2 separate regions of the Homo sapiens genome follow, and region 1 is linked to region 2. Evidence: promoter capture Hi-C in human tissues and cell types (Jung and others, 2019). All regions are on one chromosome and are shown on one strand. Each heading gives the region's core, a stretch centred on a gene start or on the middle of the fragment in contact. The rest is flanking DNA. Distances are from core to core; before and after follow the strand shown.

The links. The method cuts DNA at HindIII sites, captures the fragments that hold promoters and counts their contacts. A contact is called where the count stands out against the background at its distance.
Region 1: a contact is called between a fragment that was not itself captured here and the fragment with the promoter of IFT88 in region 2, in 1 of the 25 tissues and cell types used here (lymphoblastoid cells).

Annotation. Positions count from the first base shown.
Region 1 is chr13:20,416,289-20,423,063 of GRCh38, reverse strand. All of the region lies in intron 5 of CRYL1 (crystallin lambda 1), which reads left to right. Among named protein-coding and RNA genes, the nearest start is that of MIR4499, 14 kb to the left of the region's middle. RefSeq lists enhancers at 2,838-4,037, 6,623-6,775. The HindIII fragment of the contact is 3,613 bases long and covers 825-4,437 here.
Region 2 is chr13:20,561,962-20,569,207 of GRCh38, reverse strand. IFT88 (intraflagellar transport 88) reads right to left here and starts at 2,051. Exons shown (of 26, transcript NM_006531.5): 1 at 1,952-2,051. LOC105370103 (a long non-coding RNA gene) reads left to right here and starts at 2,179. Exons shown (of 6, transcript XR_941725.3): 1 at 2,179-2,532; 2 at 3,658-3,707. RefSeq lists silencers at 1,658-1,846, 1,942-2,351. The HindIII fragment of the contact is 1,600 bases long and covers 1,812-3,411 here.

The sequences.
Region 1 (6,775 bases), core at 1,382-3,881, 150 kb after region 2:
GAAAACAATTCCATTTACAATAGCTGCCCCCAAAATGCTTAGAAATACATTTAATCAAGAAAGTGAAATATCTGTACACTGACAACTATAATTACACTGATGAAAAAACTGAAGAAGACACAAATAAATGGAAGGACATTCTGTGTTCATGGATTGGAATGATTAATATTGTTAAAATGTCCATACTGCCCAAGGTGATCTACAGATTCAGTGCAATCCCTATCAAACTTCCAGTGGCATTTTTCACAGAGTAGCGTGGCCCTTTGTTTGGAAAGACTGTAGATACCACTCGAGATGGGTTAGGATGCACATGACAAACTGTTGGAATGTGGGGCTCTTCCAAAAGGAGAGCAGGAGTGCAAGACTTTTCCAGAAAGGCTGGTGGCTTTGGCAGAGAAATGGCATCTAAGCATATTTGTAAAGCTTTCTCCTCCTCTATGTTAGAGTCAGAAGCTGCATGCCACCCGTGTGCAGAGCCAAGTCCAGCTCAGCTTTCCCACAGGTTTGCTTACACTTGCTGGGCGACCCCAGCCTGGCTGGAGGTGCAAGGGAGCACGTTTGTACCTTGTAATGATTTCTCTCTAGAGTAGTGCAGATGTTCGCAGGGATAATGTCAACTGCCACAGCAACTGGAATTCTATCTGCAAACTTTTATTTGCTGTGTTGGAATCATTAGTTAATTAGGACTTTTTTTTTTTTTTTTGGAAATGGAATTTCACTCTGTGGCCCAGGTTGGAGTGCAATGGCGTGATCTCGGCTCATGGCAATCTCCATCTCCCAGGTTCAAAGGCTTCTCCTGCCTCAGCCTCCCAAGTGGGTGGGACTACAGGCGCATGCCACCATGCCTGGCTAATTTTTTGTATTTTTAGTAGAGATGGGGTTTCTCCATGTTGGCCAAGCTGGTCTTGAACTCCTGACCTCAAATGATCGGCCTGCCTTGGCCTCCCAAAGTGCTAGGATTACAGGTGTGAGCCACCGCGCCTGGCCTTAATTAGGATTTTTTTTCTAGCAGCAATTTTCCATAAGAAGTAGACTATTTTTATACCATTATTTATTATTTTGTGGGTGGCCATTTTCTGAGTAGTCATATTGGTGAGCAACAAAACCCTATTGAAAAGAGAGATACTGCTGATTTATGAATTTAGAGATACCTGTATCCCCATTAATAAGCAAATAAATAACATCAACCACATACTCATTAAAAATCCCCAAAATGCTGCAAAGCTTCTATGTTAGTATTCTAACTCTAAAAATAAATAAATAAATAAATAAATAAATGAAAATGCTGTTACTATAACACCTTCTAGCAATCATTACCAATAGGTGCTTGAGCAGTGAATATAAATGATGGATTTCAGCTCCCTCAGTTTGAAGTTGGGAAGTTAACAGGCCAGGGGTAAGGGTCCCCAGAAGTAGAGGATGGGGGTAAGGAGCCCCCAAGAGAAAAGGCAAAGAGAAGAGAGGTGGGAGGTGACAAATGACACTGCATCCCTCTTCCCTTGTGGGAGCCAGCCTTTGTGCCTTCCATCAGCTGCAGGTAGAAGCCAGGTGAGAGGCCACTGGAGCCCTATGGGCCATCAAGGCAGGAAGCATCTCTGGGTAAAGATGTGGGGAGTAGGCAGATATGGGGCTTGTGCTCCATGGCTGTTTTTGGAGTCAGGGCTTACACTCTTTGGTTCAAAACTTATTGTAGTAAACTGTATTCCCAGAGGACCCCTCAATTAAAGTATCACTACCCTCATAGAATGGAAGTGAATGTATTCACATTCATACACAATGATGGATTCTTTTTGCTGTTGTATTTGTTGTAAAAGTCGAGGCTTTCCCTTTCTTTCAAACTCTATAATACTGTTGTTTTTCCCCCTAAAAGCATCATTATACACACAGTGTTCTAAGAAAAAGTGCACCAGGGAATTAGCACTGGGGCCTGAAGTACTCTGGAATGTCCCTTTTATTAGGGCAAAGTCTTTCCTCTCTTTCCTTTCCATTTTTTTTTTTGTTTGTTTGTTTCTATTTAAAAGCTCTATTTTAGGCTGGGCGCAGTGGCTCACGCCTGTAATCCCAGGATTTTGGGAGGCCAAGGCGGACGGATCATGAGGTCAGGAGATCGAGACCATCCTGGCTAACACAATGAAATCCTGTTTCTACTAAAAATACAAAAAATTAGCCAGGCGTGGTGGCGGGCCTGTAGTCCCAGCTATTTGGGAGGCTGAGGCAGGAGAATCGCTTGAACCCAGGAGGCGGAGGTCGCAGTGAGTTGCGATCACGCCACTGCACTCCAGCCTGGGCGACAGAGTGAGACTCTGTCTCAAAACACACACACACACACACACACACACACACACACACACACACACACACAACCTCTATTTTAAAGAAAAGTCAAAGGGAAAAACTCCACCTGTGTTTGCTCTACCCTAAGTCAATTGCTTTCATTTTCCTTTGTTCCTGTCTAGTCTCTATTATGAACATGCTACTCAAGTTTTTATTCATTCTTAATGGCTTTATGATATTTCATTTAGCTGGTCTTTTTTTTTTTTCTTTTAAATCCAATCTTTCCCTTACTGCGGGATGTTTTAAGGTCAGGCCTCAGTGAGCCTCTATGCACATATGGTTTCTTCTTCTGGAGTCTTTTCTGGAATAATTCTGGGAGTGGGCTCAGCCTGCGGGAGAGTAACATTTTTATAACTTGATAGATGTAGCTGAGATGCCTCCCAGAGGGGAGACCCGCCTCTCCTCCGGCAGCTGTGCACGTAGGCTTGTTCCCAGCAGCCTGGCCAGGGTGGTCCACCTGGTGTTTCTCATCTTCTTTCCCCGGAGCGCTGACTCCTGCGCGTCCTCTTGGAAGACTCTTGACAGGACGGGTGTTTTATGGGTGTGATTCAGTGTCCTCTTGCATCAGTTCAATGTGGTGGTGTTCAATCAACCCTTGTAGCGTTAGCAAAATTTGCTCAAGTCATTCCGCAGGAATGTCTGTGTCTTGCTTCCAAGAAAGCTTGTAAGTGCCGGCAACAGGCCAAGCAGCTCACAAACCTGACCACAAGCCTGTGAGTAATTGTGGGGCAGCACTTAGCAGTCTTTTATTTTCGACTTATTAAAGTCTCATCTTGGCCTCACCTTCTCCCTGGAAGGTGGCGTGGGTGGGAACCACTGGGTCAGATCTTTTTCACCCTTGCCGTGGAGCCAGTTTCCTGTTGCATGTGGGGGAAGCAACATGTGGTGAAGAGTATAGAAAACGAAAACATGTGGGTACAGTATGTATAAGTGGAGGGAACAAACTCATAATTCCAACTAGTTTCTCATGAGAGACTCATGAATCATTGTGGTAGTTCTCAATATAAACTTAATCTAGGCCGGATGTGGTGGCTCACACCTGTAATCTCAGCACTCTGGGTGGATCACTTGAGGTCAGGAGTTTGAGACCAGTCTGACCAACATGGAGAAACCCCATCGCTACTAAAAATACAAAATTATCCAGATGTGGTGGCTCACACCTGTAATCCCAGCACTTTGGGAGGCTGAGGCGGGTGGATCACTTGAGGTCAGGAGTTTGAGACCAGCCTGACCAACATGGAGAAACTGTGTCTCTACTAAAAATACAAAATTAGCTGGGCGTGGTGACGCATGCCTGTAATCCCAGCTATTTGGAGGCCGAAGCAGGAGAATCGCTTGAACCTGGGAGGCAGAGGTTGCAGTGAGCCGAGATCCTGCCATTGCACTCCAGCCTGGACAACAAGAGCAAAACTCCATTTCAAAATAATAATAATAATAATAAACTTAATCTCTAACTCTGTTACTCCCTGTAGCATTTGCAAGGACCCTAGGGCTGGATGTTTCTCAGAGGGATAGTCTAGTACCCTAGCTCATGCTCGAGTTACTTCTGTGCAAGTGACTGTTCTTGTCTGGGTCTGTCCTTGAACATCTCTGGAGATGAGAAAATCACCGAGATTTAACTTTGTTCCATCCTTTCTTTCACTAGAGATTGAGATGGACGTGCTGGTGTAATCCTTTCTTCTTGGCCGCTGCCCTGGGGTGATCCACACAAGCCCAGTGCTTTCTTCATGTCGCCCTCGTAGGGCTGAAGGTGGCAGAGTACTCTACTTCTCGCTGTTGCGTTTCTTTATTTGACACTCACCTAAGATAAAACCTTTTGTGACTCCTGACTCTTAATTTTTCTCCTGTTTCTCAGTTGACAGTGGACTTATGCCCAAACTCTAGCTGAGGAGTGGAAGAACTTGAATAGAACCTCATCCAAATTCCTGGGTAGCAAGTCTGTGTTCCTGCTGGTGATAGTAGTAGTAAAGTTATTGTAGTGTTTGCACAAGAAAAATGTGAAAATTCAGGACCAAGTTTGGGGGAAAAGTAGAGCAAAACAAAATAGAAGATCAAAAGCTGGGAATTAGTAAAAAAGAAGTGGATGAGGAAGAATGGTATGAAGAAAAATGAGAAAAGCAAATGAAAATGAGGCCATGCAAAAAATACATGAATCAGAAAATTAAATCTAGGAATGGGATGATTATAGAGAAGGAAAGATGGTTCGGTGTAGCTGGTGATCAGTAGAGGAGATAGTCACGGAGGAGGATTTATCCATCAAATATCGTGTGCCTCCACCACACAAGTTTCTCTCCTGCCTTCCTCTTCTTCTGGGACTGTCCGAAGGACCAGAGTAAGTACCACAGCATCTGTTAACCCTTTGCTATTGTTAATTGTTAGATGTGTCTTGCTTCCTCTTCTCCCCATCCCCACCCCACAAACAAACAGAAGTGCTTGATCCAAGATCCCTGAGGGTATCTGTCCCCTGAGAGGGTCAGCTCGGCCAGGCTAGAGCGTCCAGTCACTCAGTCAAACTCAGTCTAGATGTTGCTGGGAAGGTATTTGGTACATAGTTGACTTTAAGTAAATGAGATTATTCTCCATAGTCTGGGTGGGCTAAATCCAGTCCATTGAAAGGCCTTGCAAGCAGAACTGAGATCTCCCTGAGGAAGGAGAAATTCCACCTGCAGACTGTGGGGTAGTTCCTGCCTGGAGTTGCCGGCCTGCCCTCCTGATGGCCTGTCCATGGCTTTCTGACTTGCCAGGCCCACAGTCACATGAGCCAATTCCTTGAAATAAATCTCTTGATGTATGTGTGTATGTGTGTGAATCTTACTGGCTTTGTCTGGTAGAACCCTGAGTGATACATCCCTAAACCTTTCATTCGACTTAACATTTGTTTCATAGCAGTTGGGTACGTTATTAACTATCTTGCATTTTCTCCTACTTCACGGATGTCTTGTGGCTCCTCTCAGCCTGGGCATTTTCTCCTACCAAATCAGGTGCAAAATATGTGCCCCAGCTATGCATGTGTTACTCCACTGTGGAAAAATCTCAGGTTTTAACTAAGGAAGCAGAAGCAAGGAGTTTTTCAATAAAAGGGGTTCCTTAACACTGTCTGGGATCTCTTTGCCCAATGATTTTCAGGACGCGAAACCATGTTTTGAACTAACAGTGATTGTAGTATTCATTGCTTTGTATGATTTTTAAATAATCTTTTCTTTGTATGTGTGACTTGAGAATTTTACCTTAAAATGGAGTAAGTACTGATTGCTAAACTGATCAATGTTAACAGAACCACAGAAGGGCTGGACTCAGGTAGGGTTCCCATCTCCGCACAGCTGTGTTGCCCGTCACCTATTATAAGGAATCGCTTGTCAGTTCCCTGTTTCAACACAAGCACTTGTTTCTGCCTGTCATGCTGCTGCGATTATTTATCAATGACAAATGATTATTTGTCATTGTTATGATAATATTAGGCCACAGATGTCACAAGGCTTTGGGTGGAATTAAGCTCAGTGGCAAAATTAAGCAACCTGAGCTTCAAAACATCCTAAATGGAAAAGCTTTAGTTCAGCACCAAGTGCAGCAGGGAGAAACTCAAACGTTTGCCTTGGGGACATGATATCCTAGTTGTGGAGCTTCTCAACTGAATGCCTTGTGGTCCTTTTCTTTCTCTATATTTAGCTTCTTGGTAAAAACTCAAGCTTTGAGAAATCCATTTCAGAAATTCAAATGGGCAGAAAGAAGCAGTGAGGAAGGGAAAGTATCAAAACGTTTTTCCCTTTCTAACTTGTTCTACTGGTGAATAGTGACTGATGGAAGACCCACAGCCCTCCTCTAGATGAAATCAGGCAGAACTGAGAACATGGGAGTTGGAGGGAATGTGGTTCCTCCCAGGTCATGGGGCAGCATGGAGAACCCTTCTCAGGCGTTAGTTAGGGGCTGTTAGCTCAGATGATACAAACCAAAAAGGACCTACTCTTGAGTGGCTCACCTTTTTTCTATTTTGCAATCCTAAAAATGATTTTTTAAAAATCAGCTCTAAAAATACTAAATACGATTCTAAAAGAGCCAAGCCAAATAACACTGCAAGTATAGGGTGGCTTCCATGTTTGCATACTTCCCAGTTTGAATACTAAAATGAAAACTTGGGGCTGTTTGGAATGTTGGCCTGGAAAGCAAGGGTGAGGGAGCGACTGCAGGCCGCCTGGCTGCCTTTCACAGCATTCCAGAGCCCACGGGGGTGCGAGGGGCCACAGCCCAGGCCTTCCAGCAGCCTGGAGAGAGGGCAGGGAGCCACCCTTCCTGCCTCCAGACCTCCTGCCAGGGAGAGGAGGCGACAATGCCTGTGTTCCACACGGGATTCTTGACGGTTCCGGGAGTTTCTGTGGGCCTTAGGTAGATATCCCCCAGCCCCCGTGATGCCCCGACCCGTTACAGCTTCGCTATTGGGAGTGAA
Region 2 (7,246 bases), core at 802-3,301:
TAATCTAAGGTCAAGAATATTTATACCTATGCTTTTTTTCTAACAGTTTTAGCTCTTATATTTAGGTCATTGATCCATTTTGAGTTAATTTCTCATTACTTTTTGAAGATGAAAATTAACTACTATGAGGGCAAATGTCACCCACATAGAAATGGCATTCCAAAATAGCTTCAAAAGGTTATTAAAAGGGCCAGGCGTCGTGGCTCACGCTTGTAATCCCAACACTCTGGGAGGCCGAGGCGGGCGGATCACGAGGTCAGGAGATCGAGACCATCCTGGCTAACACGGTGAAACCCCGTCTCTACTAAAAATACAAAAAATTAGCTGGGCATGGTGGCGGGCGCCTGTAGTCCCAGCTACTCGGGAGGCTGAGGCAGGAGAATGGCATGAACCCGGGAGGCGGAGCTTGCAGTAAACCGAGATTGCCGCCACTGCACTCCAGCCTGGGCAACAGAGCGTGCGACTCCGTCTCAAAAAGAAAAAAAAAGGTATTAAAAGTCACTGGTAAAAGATATATAAAATATTTTTAATTAAAAGCTTTAGCTCAGATAATACTAAACCAGTGGTTCTTAAACCCAAGTGATGCTGAGGCTACTGGTCTGGGGACCACTTTGAGAACCACTATTCTGAACCATAATTTCTGATTATGAACCCTATTTAAGTCAGCTTAGTTGACACATAAGTTATAGAAGGAAGCAACTTTTAGAATGAGAAATCCTTTCTGCTAGGTTGTAACCAGATTTTTAAAAGGTTTGACTTGAGACTTTAGTTGAATAGACATCTTGTGGAACATACAAATATTAAAAGATGTGGAAAGTGAGGCCAGGAAAGTTGAAGGGAATCAAGCATGGCTAATAGCTATGGGTGGCAGAACAACTGTTGTTATACAACCCAGGGTTTCTGGATTCTCCAGGCAATTTCCAAAGCAGCTTATACATGTAACAAACTTTTCCATGTTGAAATAATCTGGGGATGATGCCACCTATGTTTAATATAAATCAAATGCTGGCAAAACCTTTTTTTTTTTTAAGTGAAAGGTATGTTTTTTAATACTCTTCTACTGACTATGGACAGTCTACTTCAAGCTTTTCCAACCCCGGCCCGCACGTGGCACAGGACGGCTTTGAATGTGGCCCAACACAAATTCGTAAACTTTCTGGAAGCATTATGAGATTCTTTTTTGCGATTTTTTTTAAAGCTCATCGGCTACCTTAGTGTTTGTGAATTTCATGTGTGGCCCAAGACAATTCTTCTTCCGATGTGGCCCAGGGAAGCCAAAGATTGGACACCCTTGGTCTACTTCCAAGAAGCCTACTGCAGTTTCTCGAAAAAAAAAAAACAAACAAAAAAAACTCACAACCAGAAAATCGGACTAGTAAAAGTGTAATTTTAGGCTTAGAAAGAATCTTGGGACAACAGTACTTCACGTTTTTGGAATGTTTCCATCTTTGTGAGGCTAAGTACCGCTTTCTGCATTGTTGTGTACTTTTATCTTCATTCCTGATTCAACTTTCATCAGGCAATTTGAAGTGCTTCACCTAACAAGAAAATTAAAGAGCGATGTGCACCATCTCTGCTGTGCGATTCCAGAGCTGGCGCAGTAATCTAACTGGGTTTTAAGTTTCCCCGTCAGGCGTGACTGGGACTTGGGACATCGCCAAGCGGTCAGCGACGCCCGTCCCAGTTCAGAGGAGCAAGAAAAGCCTGTGAGCTGGGGACACCGATGTGAGAAACAACGCCCGCGTTTCTGAGTAGACAACTCGGGAGCCTGAGGAAGAAAAGCAGGGGCAGGCCGAGTCCATCTGGGGCCCCGCCTCAGACCGCCCCGGGGCCGACAGGGGCGGGCAGGAGACGGGCGAAGAGGCCCTCGGCGGGATGCGCCACACAGGACGCCGCAGGGGCACGGCTGCCAGGGGCCCTGAGGCACTAGGCCCCAGCGCCCTTCTCCTACCTCACGCTGAGGGAAGCGGGCGACAGTTATTCGGGCCCAGGGACGACGCAGCGGTTGGCCAAAGCGCGACGCCGAGCCGTTGCCAAGCGCGGAATCCAAGGAAGCCGCTCCCACAGTCCTCCGCGCGGGGGCGGGCGGGGCCGGAAGCGCGGGGGCGGGAGAGAGCGCGGCGGGAAGGGGGTGGTGCGGGAGGCCTGGGGAAGTGGGTGGGGGCGGAGAACGGCGGGTCAGAGAGAAGGCAGCCCGGTCCCCCTCAGTGGAAGGGAGTGGCGGTGGGCGGAGGGTGTTGAGGGGACGGTGCCAGCGGCTTGCGGGAAGCCGGGCGATGCGGGTAGAACGGTGGAGGAGAGGGCAGGGAGGCCGGGGCCTCCCGTGGAACGGAACCGGGGGGTTGGGAGGCTGGGGGCGGCCTGTGTGAAGGGGGCGGGGAGGGAAAGGCTCGCGGCCAGTAGATGCAGGAGGGAGGAGGGCCTAGAGGGGCTCCGGGCTGGCGGCCTCTGTGAGGAAGGGGAAGGATATGGAACCAAGATCCTTTAAATCCTGATGAACTCATCCGTAAAGCAGATGCCCAAAGGATGATAGTAAGCTTACTGTGACATAACTCCCGGAGCCGCAGCACGAGCCTTGTGAACCTTGGAAGCCCGTTTTCCGCGCAGTCACTAACTCGCTTAGTCACCCTGTGTAAAAGTTATTCTGGGATGACACCTGCCTGGGAAGTCTCACCTTTCCCCCCACCTCCTCCTGTCTGCGTATTGTTCTGTAGCACCCCGTGCGCACCTTGATTGTAGCGCTTAAGGTGTCCGTTTTATTTACTAGACAGGGATTGAACCATTGTGTCCCAACCACCTAGAACCTGGGTCATAGTGTAAAGCTTAATCAATGTAATATAAATGGGGGAATTAAATTCATAATTGTTTAATGTTTAAGTTTTGTCTTAAATTTTAAAAGTAAATGTTGGGGATGGAGGGGAGGGACAGAGGGAGTCTAAAGACACCAGTAATTAATGAGTTTTTATAAAATAAGTAGTGTTGGCCGGGCGCAGTGGCTCATGCCTATAATCCCAGCACTTTGGGAGGCTGAGGCTGGCGGATCACCTGAGGTGAGGAGTTGGAGACCAGCCTGGCCAACGTGGTGAAACCCTGTCTCTACTAAAAATACAAAAATTAGCCCGGCGAGGTGGCAGGCGCCTGTAATAAATCCCAGCTACTCAGGAGGCTAAGGCAGGAGAATCTCTTGAACCCAGGAGGTAGAGGTTGCAGTGAGCCAAGATGGTGGTATTGCACTCCAGCCTGGGTGACAAGAGCGAAACTCCATCCAAAAAAAGAAAAAACATAGTGTTGGGGGACAATTCTCCATGGGTCACCTGCACTTTCCCGTGTTTTGTGAGCAGAGACACTGACTGCCTTTGTTCTGGAGTACTATGATAGCTGGTATTTTTTAAGATGTGATTAACAGTTAAATTAGACTTGAGTAAAGCAGTTGGTCCTCCACAAGGTGGGTTGGCCTCATCCCGTCAAGGGAAGGTCATAAGAGAAAAGACTAAGGTCCTCTGAGGAAGAAGGAATCCTGCCCCCAGACTGCCTTCAGCTCTTTCCTGGGTCTCTAACTTGACCTACAAATTTTAGGCTTGCCAGCATTATAAATAAAGTTTTGGTGCCGCAAAAGAAATAGCACTCAACTATAAAATTTTCTTTTTTCCTTCTCAGCAAGGCAATTTACTTCTATAGAAGGGTGCGCCCTCACAGATGGAGCAATGGTGAGCACACACCTGGACAAGGGAGGCGAAGGGGTTTTTATTCCTGACGCTTGTGGCACCTGCTGCTGTGTCCTTCCCCTGTTGGCTAAGGTTAGACGGCACAGGCTAAACTAATTCTGATTGACTAATTTAAAGAGAGTGACCGGGTAAGTGGTTTGGTGGGAAAAATAGTTATGGCAGAGCAGGAAATCGGAATGAGTCAGGGTGGAGAATGAGTCAGGGCAGAGCAGGTAATCAGAATGAGTCAGGGTGGAGCAGGTAGTTGAAAAAGATTGCTTTACGAGGAAGTTAAGCTTTTTTTGTTTTGTTTTGTTTTTTTTAATTGAGACAGAGTCTCGCTCTATAGCCTAGACTGGAGTGCAGTGGCGGCATCTCGGCTCACTGCAAGCTCTGCCTCCTGGGTTTGCTCCATTCTCCTGCCTAAGCCTCCCGAGTAGCTGGGACTACAGGTGCCCGCCACCACACCCGGCTTATTTTTTGTATTTTTAGTAGAGATGGATTTCACCGTGTTAGGATGGCCTCCATCTCCTGACTTCATGATCTTCCCGCCTCGGCCTCCTGGGATTACAGGTGTGAGCCACCGCATCTGGCCAGAAGTTAAGTTTAAAAGTAGAAGACAAAGAATTGAACATACTGACATTGATTCTTCGAAGAGAAATTTAGAACTCATATCTAACACCAGCCTCCAATTGATTGAGCCAATTCCTTCAAATAAATCTCTCTCTGCAATATGCATCCTATTGGATCTGTTTCTGTAGGGAATTCTGATTAATATACCCTTTCAAGGAACAGCTTTGGAAGATTAAGATAATTGTCTGCTTCTGGAACAAAAGACAGGTTTGTTGCTGTTCAGTTTAATAAAGAGAGTGTCACCTTCTGGGGCAAAGGCTGAGCATGTTGGCTTGCAGTTCACTGTTCAAGACTGGGCTTTCCTAAACTTGGTGTACCTGGGCGGTAAAACCAATCACATGTGCAGCATCCACCTGGACTGTCCCCATGGGACTTGGAAGGGAAAGGGGAACCGAAGGGAATATGAAGCCCAGGCTACTGGCTGTGCTGTGAAAAATAAAGCCCTTTCTCTCTGACTCAGGTGTTTTCTGCCATCATTTGTGGAGCTGTTAGATGAGCTTGTTAGCTTGCAAGTAGGGTAAAATCTAACATGATTCTGAATAGTATCTAGCCATACTATACCCAGCTCATAGCAGTTGTTCCAAGAAATATTTGTTGAATTAATTAGTGAATACCGGGGAGCCTTATTTCAAGTTACTGTCCCTCTATAGACACAATTTCCATTATCTCTGGATCTCCAAACTGTAAATTTTCAGTCTCCTCAAAAAAATCTTTTTAATTAGAAACAAATTCAAGTTACTTCAACTTGGTTACTTTTTTTTTTTTTTTTTTGAGACAGAGTCTCACTCTGTAACCCAGGCTGGAGTGCACTGGCACCATCTCAGCTCACTGCAACCTCTGCCTCCCGGGTACAAATGATTCTCCTGCCTCAGCCTCCTGAGTAGCTGGGACTACAGGCATAAGCCAGCACACCCAGCTATTGTTTGTATTTTTAGTAGAAATGGGGTTTCACCATGTTGGCCAGGCTGGTCTCGAACTCCTGACCTCTTGTGATCTGCCCGCCTCTGCCTCCCAAAGTGCTGAGGTTACAGGCGTGAGCCACCGCACCCGGCCTCAACTTGGTTGCTCTTTGGGTGTGATACAGTTACTTGCCCAGGGAGTGCTCATTCACCTTCATTTTAAACATCATTATGTAGCTAGCATTTAATGAACACACCTATTATTGCCAGGCAAAATGTTAGGGTCACCTAGCTTATATTACTGAAATTCAAGCTCCACAGAGAATGGGCGTTTTTGTCTTTTTTGTTCTAGACTGTATCTCCAGTACTTAGAAAAGTGCCTGGAACTAGTTGACTCTCAATAATTGTTAATCGAATGAATTGTCAGGACTTGTAATTAATTATATAGAGAGTTGGGGGTGAATGGGTAGTAAGCAGCAAGCATGAATCCCAAGTTTGGCATGAGTAATGGGATGAATGCTAGCACCATGTATTACCATGGAGAATACTGGAGGAGATGCAAGTTTGAGAGAGAAAATGAGTTTAGTTTTGAATATGTTGAGTTTCAGATGCCTGTAAAATATGCAAATAGAGATGTTGACTAGGCAGCTGCTGAGTATATACAATTGTATTAATAAAGCTCAGAGAAAAGATCCTCAGGCCTGGTATGGTGGCTCACATCTGTACCTGCACTTCGGTGCCAAGGTGGGAGGATTGCTTGAGGCCAGGAGTCCAAGACCAGCCTGGGCAGCATAGCAAGACCCTGTCTCTACATATAAATAAAAATGAGCCAGGTGTGATGGTCCACACCTGTAGTCTTAGCTACTCAGGAGGCTGAGGCAGGAGGATCCCTTGAGCCCAGGAGTTTGGAAGCTGTGTTGAGCCATGATCATGCCACTGCACTCCAGCCTGGACAACAGAGTGAGACTCTATCTCTTAAAAAGAAAAAGAGGCCAGGTGCGGTGGCTGACACCTGTAATCCCAGCACTTTGGGAGGCCGAGGTGGGCGGATCATGAGGTCAGGAGTTTGAGACCAGCTTGGCCCACAAGGTAAAACCCCATGCCTACTAAAAATACAAAAATTAGCCAGGCATGGTGGCACATGCCTGTAGTCCCAGCTACTCAGAAGGTTGAGGCAGAAGAATCACTGGAACCTGGGAAGTTGCAGTGAGCCAAGATCGCGCCACTGCACTCTAGCCTGGGCAACAGAGCGAGACTCTGTCTAAAAAAAAAAAAAAAGAAAAAAGAAAAAGAAAGATCCTGTCTAGAGATACACACTTGTTATCCACTAGCTCCTAAAACATGGATTTAAGCGTAGGAGTGAGTGAGATTGCTTACAGTGAAGGAGGATATAGAGGAGAGTCTAAAATTGAGTAATGAAAAAGTAATATTTAAAGATTTTGTAGGCCGGGCGCGGTGGCTCACACCTGTAATCCCAGCACTTTGGGAGGCCGAGGCAGGCGGATCATGAGGTCAGGAGATCAGACCATCCTGGCTAACATGGTGAAACCCCATCTCTACTAAAAATACAAAAAATTAGCCAGGCATGGTGGTGCGCGCCTGTAGTCCCAGCTACTCGGGAGGCTGAGGCAGGAGAATCATGTGAACCCGGGAGGCGGAGGTTGCAGTGAGCTGATATTGTGTGACTGCTCTCCAGCCTGGGCAACAGAGTGAGACTCCGACTCAAAAAAAAAAGAAAAAAAAGATTTTGTAGAAGAGGAGCCCCTAATGATTCTGTTTAATGGTCAGACATATTTGAGCAAAACCAGGAAAGTGAAGGTAATGGAAGCTAAAGGAAGAAAATGTGTCATTTGAATTCTGGCACTCTGAATTAGAAAACAAAAAAGTCAAAAAGGAGGGAGTGACGACCGTGTTGTATGCCCAGGAAAGGTCAAGTAAGTTGAACCAAAGACATTTCATGTTCTTTAGCCATATGAAGGTCACTGTTCATTTAACAAGAGCTCTTTCAAT